Regions from separate parts of the Homo sapiens genome. Here region 1 is linked to region 2. Evidence: promoter capture Hi-C in 16 types of primary human blood cells and fetal thymus (Javierre and others, 2016). All regions are on one chromosome and are shown on one strand. The core of a region is centred on a gene start or on the middle of the fragment in contact, and the rest is flanking DNA. Distances in the headings are between cores, read along the strand shown. Region 1 overlaps LOC105375508 (a long non-coding RNA gene). Region 2 holds the start of CPA2 (carboxypeptidase A2).

What was found. Contacts are between HindIII fragments. The CHiCAGO score rates a contact against its expected background, and 5 or more counts as called.
Region 1: a contact is called between a fragment that was not itself captured here and the fragment with the promoter of CPA2 in region 2, in 2 of 17 cell types (M1 macrophages and M0 macrophages). The highest score is 7.8, in M1 macrophages.

What each region holds. Positions count from the first base shown.
Region 1 is chr7:130,785,647-130,792,983 of GRCh38, reverse strand. The region is part of intron 3 of LOC105375508 (a long non-coding RNA gene); the gene reads right to left. LOC105375509 (a long non-coding RNA gene) reads left to right here. Exons shown (of 3, transcript XR_007060528.1): 3 at 840-2,065. Among named protein-coding and RNA genes, the nearest start is that of KLF14, 55 kb to the right of the region's middle. The HindIII fragment of the contact is 7,869 bases long and covers 1,291-7,337 here.
Region 2 is chr7:130,262,036-130,269,680 of GRCh38, reverse strand. CPA2 (carboxypeptidase A2) reads right to left here and starts at 2,818. Exons shown (of 11, transcript NM_001869.3): 1 at 2,729-2,818; 2 at 671-752; 3 at 1-12. The coding sequence starts at 2,799. The HindIII fragment of the contact is 5,023 bases long and covers 1-4,110 here.

The DNA of each region.
Region 1 (7,337 bases), core at 3,976-6,475, 520 kb before region 2:
GGAAGGTCCAATCTGACAAGAGTATTTGAAAAAGACAGTGCAGAGAAAATGGAAGGAAGGAAGTCATTAAGCACCACCAAACAAACAAATAAAACAGGGAACAATTTCCCAGAACAGAAGGCTATTGGGCTTCATATTAGAAGGCCTCAAGTGCCCACATGCTTACACCAAAAGCACGCAGGCTTAGAATAGGTTTTCCATGGTCCCAGCTGGTGTCAAGCCATTACCCCAAACTGGCCTCCTTTACTGTGTCTCCAAGGCCTCTCTGGGTTTTAAAATAGTATCTCACCACACATAGGAAATACAACAATAAGAAAATATTTTTTAAATATACTGAAACTCTAGTGCCACCCAACTGAAGGATGCCCTAGAGACACTGACAAACTATTTCAGAAAATTAGTCTTTCTTTTGGAAGACAAAATATTTTGGAAAATAGCACTTTAAGCAAATTTATGCTGAAAATAAACACATATACACATCCATATTTAGTTATCTGTATTTTTCTAAAGTGCCTGCCTTGAAAAGATGTATGTGCAGAGGTCTGTGGGGAGAGGGTTGAGGGCAACACAGTTTTTCTGAAATCCCGATGAAATGGAAAGTACCATGGAAAACAAATCACTTACCAAAATATTGTAACAGAGGCTCAAGAACTAGAAATTTCTGAAAGAAAGCCTATGAATACGTTTCAACTTTTACACCAGAAAGCATTCTCTTATGACAGCTTCAAGATGTACTCGGAAATTGCTTTTACTGAAACTCATTACTCTTTTAAGACTGTATAGCAGTTATTATTTTCTGACATTTCCTTGTTTATTGCTTGTTTCTTTGTGCATTGCAGGTTCCATAAAAGCTGACTTTGTGCCTGGAACATTGGAAGTGACCCGTCAGTGCTTACTGAATGAATAGGCAAATGAACAAAACCTCCTGCAATACAGCTTTCTTACCATGCCTCAAGAGACTCTTCAGTCCATCCTACTGTAGTTGCTTTTGATTGGGTTCTCCCTGAGTACTGACCCTAGGCCCAGATTCAGAGATTTCTCCAAAAAAAGAGCTTCTTTCAAAGACATCATTCCTATTGTCAACCCTGTTGGCATAGACACAAAATGTAAACGTTGGACAAAGGCAATACTTGCTGTGACAAAGGCGATATTTGTTGTAACAAAACACAAATGTCTGTCCATCAGTGGGGAACGAGAATGCTGGGATTTGAAGAGGCCAAAAAAATAATACTGCTCTCTCTTTTGAGAAAGAGAGGGGATTTTTTTTTTTTTTTTGAAAAGCCATAAGCTTAGGACAGATGAAATTCAAAATCCACACTAAACTTCACTGGAGAATGTAAGCAAAATATGAGGCCACAGGTGAGCTTTCTATTTCCTTCCTCCACTCTCCAAGATGGCCCATTGATATTTGGCTGTGTCCCCAAATCTCATCTTGAATTGTAGTTCCTGTAATCCCCATGTGTCATGGGAGGGATCCAGTGGGAGGTAATTGAATCATGGGAGCAGTTACTCCCTTGCTGTTCTGTGATAGTGAATGAGATCTCATGAGATCTGATGGTTTTATAAGGGCCTTTTTCCCCTTTGCTTGGCACTTCTCCGTCCTGCCATCATGTGAAGAGGGATGTGTTTGCTTCCCCTTCTGCCATGATTGTAAGTTTCCTGAGGCCTCCCCAACCATGTGGAACTGTGAGTCAATTAAACCTCTTTCTTTCATAAGTTACCCAGTCTCAGGCAGTTCTTTATAGCAGCGTGAGAACAGACTAATACGCCCACCCAGGATTCAGTCTCCCACCTGCAGAAGCAGAGGTCCCCCAGTCACTGTACTCCTGGCATCTTTGACGGCCAGCCACTGGGACTAAAAGCTCAAAGAGGGCAGGGCCGCTTATGCCTAGTTTCTTCTCCTAGTTTCAACAGTAAGATAAATCATTCCCACCTAGGGGAGAGAATGAAGTCTGGAATCACTAATAGTGTTATACCCTGGGAATGTAAGTTCCCTCATGCAACATGAGGGGGAGGAATAAGATTTCCACCAGATAAATAAATAAATAGTCTGTGGTGCACCCAATGTTATGTTATATATCTATTTACAAGAATACAGTCAGATAAGATCTACATATACCAACACAAGAAATGTTTCAAAGGATTTTAAAAGTGGTAGAAAAATTGCAACATTATTTGTGACTTTTTTTTTTTTTTGACATGGTCTTGCTCTGTCACCCAGGCTGGAGTACAGTAGCATGATCATGGCTCACTGTAGCCTTGACCTCCTAGGCCCAAGGTGTCCCCCTGCCTCAGCCTCCTAAGTAGCTAGGACCACAGGCACATACCATTAAACTCAGCTAAGTTTAAATTTTTTGTAGACATGGGGTTTCACCCTGTTGTGCAGGCTGGTCTAGAACTCCTGGACTCAAGAGACTCCCTGCCGTGGCCTCTCAAAGCACTGGGATTACAGGCATGATCATGGCCCTGCTTATGCAGGTGCAAGACCTCTGCTTACGCAGGTAGGAGCCCTCCATGTCCCCAGCCTGACCTTCTTCTTGTAAAAGTAAATGAATAATTCTAATATATGTTAGCATATGTATAAATATGAAAAAGGAAGACTATGCATTGAACTTAATGATGGTTATCTTTAGCAGGTAGGATCACAGCAAATGTTTATTATAGTTTTGATGATGTCTGAATTTTGTATTAATGGAAAACCATTTCTTCTATAATAAGGAAAAATAATAAAGAGTAGAAAAAAGGGAATTAAATTAGAAAGCAGATGACATTTCTTTTCCTCCTAAGATTGTGCTGAAGAACAAGAGGAAGAGAGAAACCAAATGGGTGTCTGTAGGATTGGAGTAAGCAAATGGCCTTGTCCCCAGGTGCCACCACATATGGTGGGGATAGGAGAGTGCTGGCCACCTGTTGCCTCTCATGGCCTCTCTGTAGTTTTCTCCTTGAAGCCTCAGGAGCCTTCCATTCCCAGTCTCCATCCCTCCTAGTGTATTGTCACAGGAAACCACAGTCTTGGGTCTGGACTTTACAGCCAGCCTATGAGGGCACCGAAGAAAGAGCATGGGCTCTGACAGTAGATGGGCCTAGGCTCAAATGCTAATCCTGCCATGTCCTCAATGTTTGAATCTGGGCAAATCACTTGACTGCTGAGAGTTGGTTTTCACATCTCCAAAATGGATTAAATAATTCTCTCATAACAGGTGGTGGATGTAAAGCCCTTAGCTAGCCTCCCTTCCCCTGATTTATGATTTCCAAACTCTCTGCTTGAGACAGGGTGTCATGGGACACAAGAGGGATACAGCATAAGGAACTGTGTGACATTTAACTTCCTAGAATCACATACACTGGGGACTGGTCACTAGAGAAGAGAAACCAGACCCCAAAGACGCAGAGATCTTGGTGTGGGAGCAGAGATCTGTGTCCAGAAACTGCAGGAAAACCACAAAACTAGGAAGCACGTTCATTTCTCCACCCTCTCATCAAGACAATCAGCCTGCTGCTTCGGGCTCTTCTAAGAGTTTGTTTTTGCTCTGCTGAATGTCTCCTTTTTTGCACTTTGTAATACGCTTTAACATCTTTCTTTATGTATCCGAAGAAATAATCAATCAGCTTTAACTTTCAAAATTCTTGATTTTTCACTGTGGTGGCAAAAAAAGGAAGCCTCTGTGACCCCACCAATAACTCATTTGGGATGTCTTTGAAATATTTAACTGTGTTCCTTTTAAAAAAAAAAATAGTAAAGAGCCAGGCATGGTGGCTCACACCTGTAATCTCAGCACTTTGGGAGGCCGAGGCAGGCAGATCATGAGATCAAGAGATCAAGACCATCCTGGCCAACATGGTGAAACCCCATCTCTACTAAAAATACAAAAATTAGCTGGGTGTGATGGTGCGCACCTGTAATCCCAGCTACTTGGGAGGCTGACGCAGGAGAATCGCTTGAACCCAGGAGGTGGAGGTTGTAGTGAGCCAAGGTTGTGCCACTGCACTCTGCCAGGCTACAAACCGAGACTCCATCTCAAAAAAGCAAAAAAGTAACCGTGGCAATACACCAGGGAAGAACTTCATAGGATACTGCGTTTTATTTCACATTCCCCAACTCAAGCCTTGTCTCCCAGCATTCCTGAGACTAATGGAGGCATGGAAGAGGCACAGTCTGCACAAGCTCAGGCTAACAGCTCTCTTACTATAGATGGTTTTCCGACTAAACATTAAGATGACCCCAAGTAAGCATGGATTCTGTAAATGTGTCACTGAAAAGCTGAATCCTGCTATCAAAGACAAGAAAAGAGCTTCAAGAACAGAAGCTGGAAACAGTCCAGCCACACAAAAGCTGGAAAGATTCAGAAACAAGGCAAGAGTGAGGAGCAAATGATCAGGCTCTGAGAGGGACTAAGCCAAGGTGATTCTGGCATAAGAAGAGGTGACTATAACAGAGGTTTCAGAATACAGCCTCACATATATAAGCAATTGTTTTACAATTAAGAGGCTTCTGTGGTTTAGTGTTAAAAGGATGATCTTTTCAATAAACAGTGCTGGAACCATTGAATACTTATATTTTAAAAATAAGTCTCAATCCATACCTTATATCACATACAAACATCAATCTTAAATAGGTTATAGGCCTAAACTTGTAAGCTAAAACCATTCTTTCAACAATAGAAGAAAACATGAAAGAAAAATCTTTGCAACTTCGAGTTAGGTGAATAGTTTTTAGAGAGGACACCAGTCAGTATCTTTAACCTTAAAAACTTATTAAATTGGCTGGGTGCGGTGGCTCACGCCTATAATCCCAGCACTTTGGGAGGCCGAGGTGGGTGGATCACCTGAGATCAGGAGTTTGAGACCAGCCTGACCAACATGGAGAAACCTCGGCTCTACTAAAAATATAAAATTAGCCAGGCATAGTGGCGCATGCCTGTAATCCCAGCTACTTGGGAGGCTGAGGCAGGAGAATCGCTTGAACCCGGAAGGCAGCAGTTGCAGTGAGCCAAGATCGTGCCATTGCACTCCAGCCTGGGCAACAAGAGTGAAACTCTGTCTCAAAAAAAAAAAAAAAAAAACTTATTACATTGAGCATCAGAAGTAAAACCTTTTTTCCTCCAGAATATACAAGAGGCAACATCGCCAAGATAACAGAGTAGGAAATACCAGCCCTTATCTACCACACACAAAAAAACAAATATAAACAGCTATGCACAAAACAAAATAGTCCAGAGGGAGCTCAATGGTTCATTAAAGAATCTGCAGGAATACAGCAGAGCATAAAAATCCAGGGAATATTCACATAAAAAATATCGCTGGTGAGACTGGCATAGCTAAGATGCCAGGAGATGACTAGTAGCTAAAAAGAAGAAAGTCAAAGACTATCGGTATCAGTTACATGATGTGAACCACCAGCATTCCCAGGGGCCTGCTCCACAAAGGACACTGGCATCTCTTGCTACTGAGCTAACCAACAGCCCTTCTCACCAGAGAACCCCAGAGACAGAGAGATGCCTGAACACCCCGTCCCCATCCATGAATTTGATAGACTGTTGAGCCAATTCAAGAAAGGAGCCACTACCTCTCCCAAGCCCACGTGTTCTTTGATCCTGGAGCTACACTGCACTGCGAGTGCCCGCACTCCGATGATGGCATCTTAGTCCATTTGTGTTGCTCTAAAGGAATACCTGAGTCTGGTAATTTATAAGGAAAAGAGGTTTATTTGGCTTATAGTCCTGCAGGCTGTACAAGAAGCATGGTGCTGGTCTGCTCAGCTTCCTATGAGGGTCTCATGCTGCTTCCACTCATGATGGAAGGTGAAAGGCAACTAGCATGCAGAGATCATATGGTGACAGCAGAAACAAGGGAGAGAGAGAAGGTGCCAGGCTCTTTTGGACAACAAGCTCTTGGGGAAACTAATAGGGAACTCATTCACTACCACAAGGATAGCACCAAGCCATTCATAAGGGATCCTCATGACCCAAACACCTCCCAATAGGCCCCACTTCCAACATTAGGGATCAAATTTCAACATGAGGTTTGGAGGATCAAATATTCAAACTATAGCACCTGGACTCTGTGGCTGTACTGGGCCTGACACTGGAGTCATCACCAAAGTGAGCTAGTTCACACGCCAGGCCTAGGAGCCAAACCTTCACTGTCTATGCTTGCTCTCTGGGCACCAGCTCAGCTACCATAGAGAGCTAGGCCCCACCTGGACCCCAGAGCCACTCTAACTCTGCACACACCTGTGTTCCCATTCTCAGCTCCCCAGCTAATCCACAAACATCTGCAACTTGCATATCTTCACCAACTCAGCAACAGGGGTGCCTTCACCCTGGGCACCAGTGGCATTACCACCCTGGATCCCACAACTGCAGTCCCTCTACACATGCCTGTGCCTCAGGCCTCAGCACTGTGGTTGCTCCACAGGTGCCATGCATCAGACACCAGTGCCACCGCCACCAGGAGTGGGCCTACAAGCCAGACCCAGTGCCAAGAGGGATCCCCTCAGCACCAACATCTCCAGAGAGGAAAAAAGAGATCAGGAGGACTTAGCAGCCATTGCCACTGAAGATCCTAACAATCCTTACTGCCACTATAGACATCCACAATATTGGCCACTGAGGATCTCTGCAATCTTTGTTAACACTGACCTCGGCTTACAGTGCCACACACAGACTACACAGCTGCACTGTCACTGGTATCAGAATCCCTGAACACCACCAAGCAAGCACTTTCATACTCCCCTACAGGGGAAGGTCTTTCCACAGCAAAACTAGCCTGTAAAGTCTGGAAGAGGTGACTGCTCCATCAAATGCACAGATATGTACAAAGACAACAAGAAACATGAAAAACAATGGAGACATAATACCACCAAAAGAAGACAATGATTTCCTAGTAACCAACCCCAAAGAAATGTAGATATACAAACTGCCTGACAAAGAATTCAGAATAATAGTTTCAAGGAAGCTCAGTAAATTTCAAGAAAATACAGAGAAACAATTCAATGAAATAAAAAAATAATCAACTACCAAGTGAAAAATTTAACAGTGAGATTGAAATTATTTTTTAAAAATCAAGCAGAAATTCTGTAGTCCCAGCTACTCAGGAGGCTGAGGCAGGAAGATCACTTGAACCCAGGACATCAAGGCAGTGAGCCATGGTCATGCCACTGCACTCCAGCCTGGGTGACAGAGCAAGACTCTGCATCAAAAAATGTATCTCTTGAGACAAATGGAAATGGAAACGCAACATACCAAAACTCACGGGATGCAGTAAAAGCAGTTCTATCAGAGAAGTTTATGGCAATAAATAGCTACGTCGAATATGAAGAAACATCCCCCCAAAAA
Region 2 (7,645 bases), core at 1,569-4,068:
CCAAAAATCAAGCTGAAAGGGATAAAAGTCCAAGCCAAGGAAATGAATGGGCTGTTCTGGGGAATGGACAGTTCAGCACTGATAGATTTCTAGGAATCAATTTGCATCCACTTTATCTTGAGCCCACAAGTTTTGGAATCATTGTGGAATCACTATGATATTGCAACAAGGGCTTTTAAATATCCATGTGTCAGCAAATCCATTATATTGTTTCCCCTGCCCCTATGGCTAGATATTAAAACTGGCAGAAGGAAAAGATTATTAAAACGATGGCAGTTTTTTTAAGCTGGGATTCTAGCAATCCAATTCATTTAATAATGGGATATAAATGCTATAAATTATTTTATAAGGGAAATATGCACTAAAGGTGTTTAATTTTTGAAAGTAACTTTCACATTTGATATCTCTTCTCATTCTTACAATAAACCTGAGAGATAGAAGAACGGCATATTTATCGCCATTACTCTGAGTGAGAAAATGAGACACAGGGAAGGTAGGTGGCTTGCCCAATGTCCTGTAGTTGGGACTAGAGCCCAGGTTTTCAGAACCCCAGCTGCATGAGTTAGCATTTCACACTATGTCATGGGAGTCAGAATACAGTCGAAAATAGAGCTCAATCATGTTTAACTGTATTCATTCTGGGAACAGCAACTCCCACTAGATCAAATACCTGGAGATGTTCTTGAGCCTCCAATTGTAGCAGATTTTTAATTTGTTCTTCATTGCTTGGTACAATCTCAAGAACTTGGTCTCTAAAGAAAATTAACCACAAATATGACCTTAAAAGCAAAACCTGGACACTGTTTCCTGTTGCTTTCTGCACCTGTTAGTCTCTGCGTATAACAGATTAATGCAACAGTCAATAATCTCTGTGACAATCCAGAAACTAATAAATAGTATACTAAACCCACATCGCCAGAATGAGAAGGTGATAGAATGGCGTTATTTCCTCCCAGGAAATGTTATCTAAATAATAATGAATAGGTGTACCTGCTCCTAGCAGGAAGCCTGCCATTAAAGTTACCTTTCCCATAGCTAATGAGTCAAATAAAACCTGCTGCTTGTGGAGTGTTATAGCTTTTAATACTTGCCTGTTCCTGTTGTTCAGAAGTAAGTTTTTAAAAAGTGGAATAATTTGGTGCTTGTAAGAGGAAACAATTCATATGTGGGTAGTCCTAAGATTTTGTTTTTAATGGTTTTGGGGGTTTTGTTTGTTCTTTGATTTTGTCAACTGAAAATGTATCAAGGTTCCATCCCCAGACCCCATTCATGGGGCCCAAACATGGGGCATGGCCAGAGATAGTTGGGACCCTGACAAATTATGTGCCGTGCCTCTCTTTACAAACACACACACACACACACACACACACACACACACACACACCCCCTTAATAGGGAATGAAGGATGAACAGGAAAGAGAAATCTCAAAACAATCAAGCACATCTCTTTAGGAAGAGTTCCCTTGGTGACAGAGTTTCCCCTTCTAGCCTTTCTCCACGTAGGCAGACTTCCTAAGTCACTGCCCCAACTGTTTGTGCAGTGGGGAAGGAATCAATACAATGAGCCATGTACAGGGACCAGAATATGGGTCTTCTGAAACCAAGCTCCATGCAATTTCCTACGAACTCCAGTGGAATACAGAAGTGATGGAATGTGAGCTCTTCGAGGCTCACCTGCCACAAATGGTCTGAAAATTCTTCCATTTAAGTCTCATTATTTTCGGTTAATGCATGGACTCCCAGGAGTCCTCCTTTAAAATGGGAAGGCACTGAGAAAAGTAATACAACAGGGTCATATTTCCTGGTGTGTGTTCTAAAGAATAGTAGTTCTTTGAGTTACTCAGTGAAAGAAAGAAAGAAAGAAAGAAAGAAAGAAAGAAAGAAAGAAAGAAAGAAAGAAAGAAAGAGAAAGAAAGAAAGAAAGAGAAAGAGAAAGAAAGAAAGGGCAAGCTGGGAGCAGTAGGTAGTTTATGATTAAAAAAAAGAGTACATGCTGCAACCTAGATCCCCTCTTATAGATTTATAATGCACACTGATTTAGCCAAGGCTCCTAGAAATCCTATAGTTTGTTTAATCCTCTGATTCCCACATTTATTTGACCAGTGGCTTTTTGGGACCAAACTTATTTGATTGCTTTCTTAGCTCCCTGGACCACTCTTCAAAAAATGCTGCCTGAAACCCTTCATAGAATCATGAAGCAAAGTACTTTGGAGCAAAGATGAGTCCTCCAAAGCCAGGAGAGGAGGAGTTGAGCTGAAATCTATAGCCCTGGCCTTTCTACTTCATGAGGTTCCACCACCTAGGTGCTGAATCTAAAGATCGGGGGTTAGGGCACAAGGGCTAACGTGGATGGTAAAGCCCAGAAGAGCAGGAGGAGGTGGGAGAGTAGCATTGACACCCGCTGAGTTGCCTGGAACAAATGGCCACACAGCTGTATTTTCCCTGATGTCTATCATCCCTACAGTCTGATCACTGGAGGGAAAAATGAGTAAGGACAGAGAGAAATAGGGTTATGTGTGTTCAGTTTTCACTTTTGTCTTTTCCTTTAAATGTCATTCACCTCCTTTTTGATCATCCACTCCTTTTTTTCACACTATTGACTTATCCCCAAATCTAAGAGAACTTCTCTGAAAACACTGAACACTTATACCCATTTACTCTGTAACAATCAAAGCCTCCATCAATCAGGTAAGTAAAATTCAAAGAAGCACCAGAAAGCATAACTTACCCCACAAATGTTTCTAGACAGTAGATATGCCCAAAAAGGGCACCAAAAAACAGGATCAACCTCATGGCCATGGGTTTTCCTGGAGTCCAGAATTCAGAGTCCTTCCTGAACTTTATTTGTAGGGATGGCAGCTGAGGGTGATCTGCTGGCCTTCTGAGAACTCACGTGAATTCCCACATGGGAAAATTCCCACCTGCATGTGAAATTCTCAAGGTTGTAGACATCCACCTGTGTGATATCACCAATGTGTACATGTTCCATTCCTAGGATAAGATAACAAACTTTGATGGAAAGAGAACAAAATTGCTAGAGCATACCAAGGGCAATATAGTTATGATTGAGACCATAAAACGCCACTAGCTACCCTGTGATAGAAGCCAGATTAATAGACCTAGAGGTTAAAGTCTTTTCTGGGTCTCTGACACACACACAAAAAAAAGGCCAGAGCATTTATAGTAATTACTCAGGCATCCTGTCTATCACATTCCATTAGTTTGCTCATTTGTTTATTTTTATAATGTTTACCTTGAAACACTGCAGTCACTCAGTCCACATCTGCTGAGTGTCCCTGTAGATGTGGCCCATTCCAATCCTCACTCTACATTAAAACAAAACAGAAGGCCTTTTAATATTCAATTTTGCACTTTCTCGAAAGTGATCCATCTGCATTTGCACCAAATTGATATCCCTCTTTCTGTGCTTTTTCCCAAAATGAAAATGTCTTTCTGATGACATTTCCTATAACAAGCAACAATGAAGTTGCTTGTTATAAAAAGTGTGAATTAAAAGAAAGTGTTTTCTTTAACCATCAATAATTCTTCCATCCAAAGAAAACCATTTGGCATATGTCTTTCCAAATTTCTTTCTCTGCTTTCGAGTTTTTTTCTTAAACAAAGATTAGACCATATCACGTATACTGTTCTTTAAACAAAGGTGATCTTTTCTTGTTCATAAACATAGATCTACATTAATCTGACTTTGTTCTTCATTGCTTAAGAAGAAAATATAACTGCTTATTTTTAGAAACCATAGTTTATTTAATTTTAGTTGTTCATACACGTTATATTAAGCCTAGAAAGCCTCAACCACAACAAGCAGCAAGGAAATTTTCGTCTGTCCTTTGTGTGTCAAATTTATCAGCACACACTTTAAATCTCTGGGTTTGCATTCTCAAATATCTGCTTTAAGGGGAAAGGTATATACACAGTGTTTCTGATTTTAAGAATGACTGGATTAACTTGGTTTTTCATTCTCCTGGGAGTCAGAGAGAAGACAGAAACCAAAAGGCAGAGGCCATAATTCATCCTCATGTCTCCAGCACCTATCAAATAAACAGTAGTTCAATAAACTGGAAGTATGTACTTGGAGAATCAATAAAAGCTTCCTGGAAAAAATCAAGTTTCAGGCTGGGCTCAGTGGCTCACGCCTGTAATCCCAGCACTTTGGGAGGCCAAGGCAGGTGGATCACGAGGTCAGGAGATCGAGACCATCCTGGCTAGCATGGTGAAACTCCGTCTCTACTAAAAATACAAAAAGTTAGCCGGGTGTGGTGGCGGGAGCCTGTAGTCCCAGCTACTCAGGAGGCTGAGGCAGGAGAATGGTGTGAACCCGGGAGGCAGAGCTTGCAGTGAGCCCAGATGGCACCACTGCGCTCCAGCCTAGGCAACAGAGTGAGACTCCGTCTCAAAAAAAAAAAAAAAAAAATGGAGTTTGAGCTGAGCCTTTGTGCCAAGGCAAATGTGAAAAGAGCCTGGATTTCTGGTGGTAAGAAAATATAAGCTAGACAGGGAACCAGGGGAGAGCACATGATACACAGCTGGGTTAAGGAGGAAACTTAGCCTAGCAGAGCAGAGACTTGAACCTGGGAGTGGTGGGGAAGGTAAAATACCAGAAGGTGGGCTAGAGGGCAAAGGATCTCACAATCCAAACAGAGGAGTACACACCAGATGATATGGAGAGCCTTGGAAGGTTTCTAAGCAGGTAACTGATTGATGAGGGCAATGCTGAAAATGGTGAACCTTGCAGGATGGTGCCTGGCAGAGATCCTCTAAGCAGGGAGCCAAATATGAGCCTCTTGGGGAAACCGAGATTTAGGATGCTACATCTGGACTTGTGGATGGCAGAGGAAATGTCTGAGATGGCCTTGAAGAGAGATTTCAGTGGAAGAAACACAAGCCTGTGGTGAGTAATTGGTGCATGACTGGATATAGAAGGAGAAGGTGGGGAAAGGAAGTTCCAGCCCGTGTTAAAGGAGGGATAGGTAGCCACCTCCATGGTTGCCCCCACAACATCTCCCCATCCATTGTGACACTGGGTGAAGTTCCACTGTAAGAATTTGTTTTGATTATCTCCCCTACTGTTAAGCTTTCAAAAAGGAATTTCTGCTGAGAAGTGCTACTCAATGATTGAATCCACTCTCAGTGCTAGGAACATGATAGCTCTCTTTCCTTGCTGGGAAGAACAATGGAAGGGGGTGTTGAGCCTAGAGCTATAATGGGGGTCCAAAAGATGCCTCGCCCCCACCTCACTCCTGAGTCCAAAGGACTCAAAGATGATGCCTGAGTGAGAAAAATAAACATTCCCTGGATGGATGTGCCAAATAAAAATTATAGAAGGCCATTATTTTGGACTAAGCTTCCATACCAGACCCCAGCAGACCAGACTAAAAATCAAAGCAGAGCCACCCATGCTAAGGACCCAAGATAGGTTGTTAACTGACCTGAGAAATCAGGAGAAAGAGATAACAGGCAATTTCCCAAACAGGCCAGTTTAAATCTTCAATAGGCACGATAATGAATCTCTTTTGCTTTAATCCTTACACAAAAAATGTGGCCTGAAGTCACCTGATGTTAACCAACCACTTATTTTTCTATTGTGGTGTCTCACTGTCCCCACCTTAAAAGAAAAGTAGCTTTGGAAAGACTAACAGTCTTTGTTTTTTGCTTCTGCGTTATCCAGCCCGTCTTTGTCTGTAAGGCCAAGCCCTTCTGCTTAGCTCATGAGAATACTCACTGTGTTTTATGGGATGAAGTGTTACCCTATTCTAGAATCGCAAATAAAGCCAACTGAGATCTTTAAACTGAATTTGATGTAATTTTGTCTTTTGAAAGGTGAAAATTGTAATTTTATAAAATAAATAGAGGAAGTTAGAGAAGGAGAAAGCACAAGCCTTCGAAGGAGGTTGTAGGAAAAACTTAAGAAAGCTCTGTTTTCTGTTTCTGACAATATAAACTGATACATATCAGAATAGGGCATTGTCATTTCTACCTCCTCACCACCATACAAGCTGGGTGAAATCTATTTTTTTAAACAGTCATATTGAGGTATACATGACATATAATAAACGGCATATGTTTATTTTTAAATTTGTATCATTCTCTTAAGAAACTCAGTCTATAAACTACATATATTTAAGACATGCAATTTGACATGTTTTGACATAGGTATACATCCATGATGAAATCATCACCACAATCAATATCACATATCACAGATCTATCATCCCCAGTAAAATCTGTTTCTGAGAATCATTAAGAAAATCTCCAGCCAGAAAGAGATCATTGAAGCCTCCTTGCTTTGCAGAGGAGGAAATGAGGCCCCCAGAGGGGAAGCGACTTACACAAAGCCCCAGGGCTGATCTGGGCTAGAGCAGGCACCAGGAGCTCCAGCCTCAGACCCTGGTTCATTGCTTCATCCAATTAACCAAGGTAATTCTACTCAGCTCTAGGAAAAGACCATTTTAGGCCAAATGCTTCTTCATCAACCTATCCCCCAGGAAGCCGTAATTCAGAAAGAGAAAGATGATAGCTCTCTTTAGAAAAGTGCTTTAATAGCATATTACTCCCTATGAAGATGATGTTAGGCACAATTCGACTTTCTCGCCATTTAACCCCAGAAGGTGAGATAGCCTAACGGTAGGGTGAGTAGGCCACTATATGGGACCATAAGAGAAAGAACCACAGATTGAAGCCTTCAGTAGAGATACCAGATTCTAAAGCACTTCAAACTCAAAACTCTGAATGCCTTTGCCTGTAGAAACGGGGTTATTTGTAGTGCTTTTTGTCCCCCTGCCTCGGGTTTATTTGTACAAATAGCACTGGAGGACATCAGCCCCGTGCAGAGGGCAGCCCAGGGGTCACACTAGTCCTTCTGTTCTCACATTGGCAGACAGAGGTCTCTACTCTGGAGCCTTTGTGAGAGCCTGGGCACCTTTTGGAGCCTAAGCTGGAACTGAAGCTGGAGCTGCAGCCTGAGCCTTGCTTCAATACTTGGCTTTGGCCTTTGGCTGGCAGAGTCTGAGACCCTTGGCAATGCAGGCACAAGCACAATTCCCAAGCTTGTGTTGCAGAATTTTTGCTCCTCAGTTCAGCTAAAACTGGCTTCTTGTCACACAACCAGGAAAGATTAGGCACGCAGACACATTGAAGGGTGAGTAGAGTGGAGTTTACTGGGCAAAAAAGAAAAAAACTCTCAGCAAAGTGAGAGGGGGTCCTGCTAACAGGCCCCCACCTCACAGATTGATTTCAGGCCACCACTCATGAGCTGAAGAGGCCAGGTTCTTCCCCCGACACAAGGTGTGAACTTCCCATGGCACCACCCCATCCTCCCAGTGCACAGGCAGGTCCCCAGTCTGTTGCGGGCAGGTGCAGACAAGACCCTGGGCAGGTTCCCTCATCTGCACAAAAGCATCTGATGTAAACACTTGTGGGGCAGCTCGGAGATTCTCCAGGGACCCCTCCCCATATCTGCCTCCTGCATCTATTATTTCCCCCTCTAAAGAAGTCCATCTAACTGCCTTTAGAATAAGGATAAAGATAAAGATAAGGGGCCGGGTGCAGTGGCTCACGCCTGTAATCCCAGCACTTTGAGAGGCCGAGGTGGGTGGATCACAAGGTCAGGAGATCGAGACCATCTTGG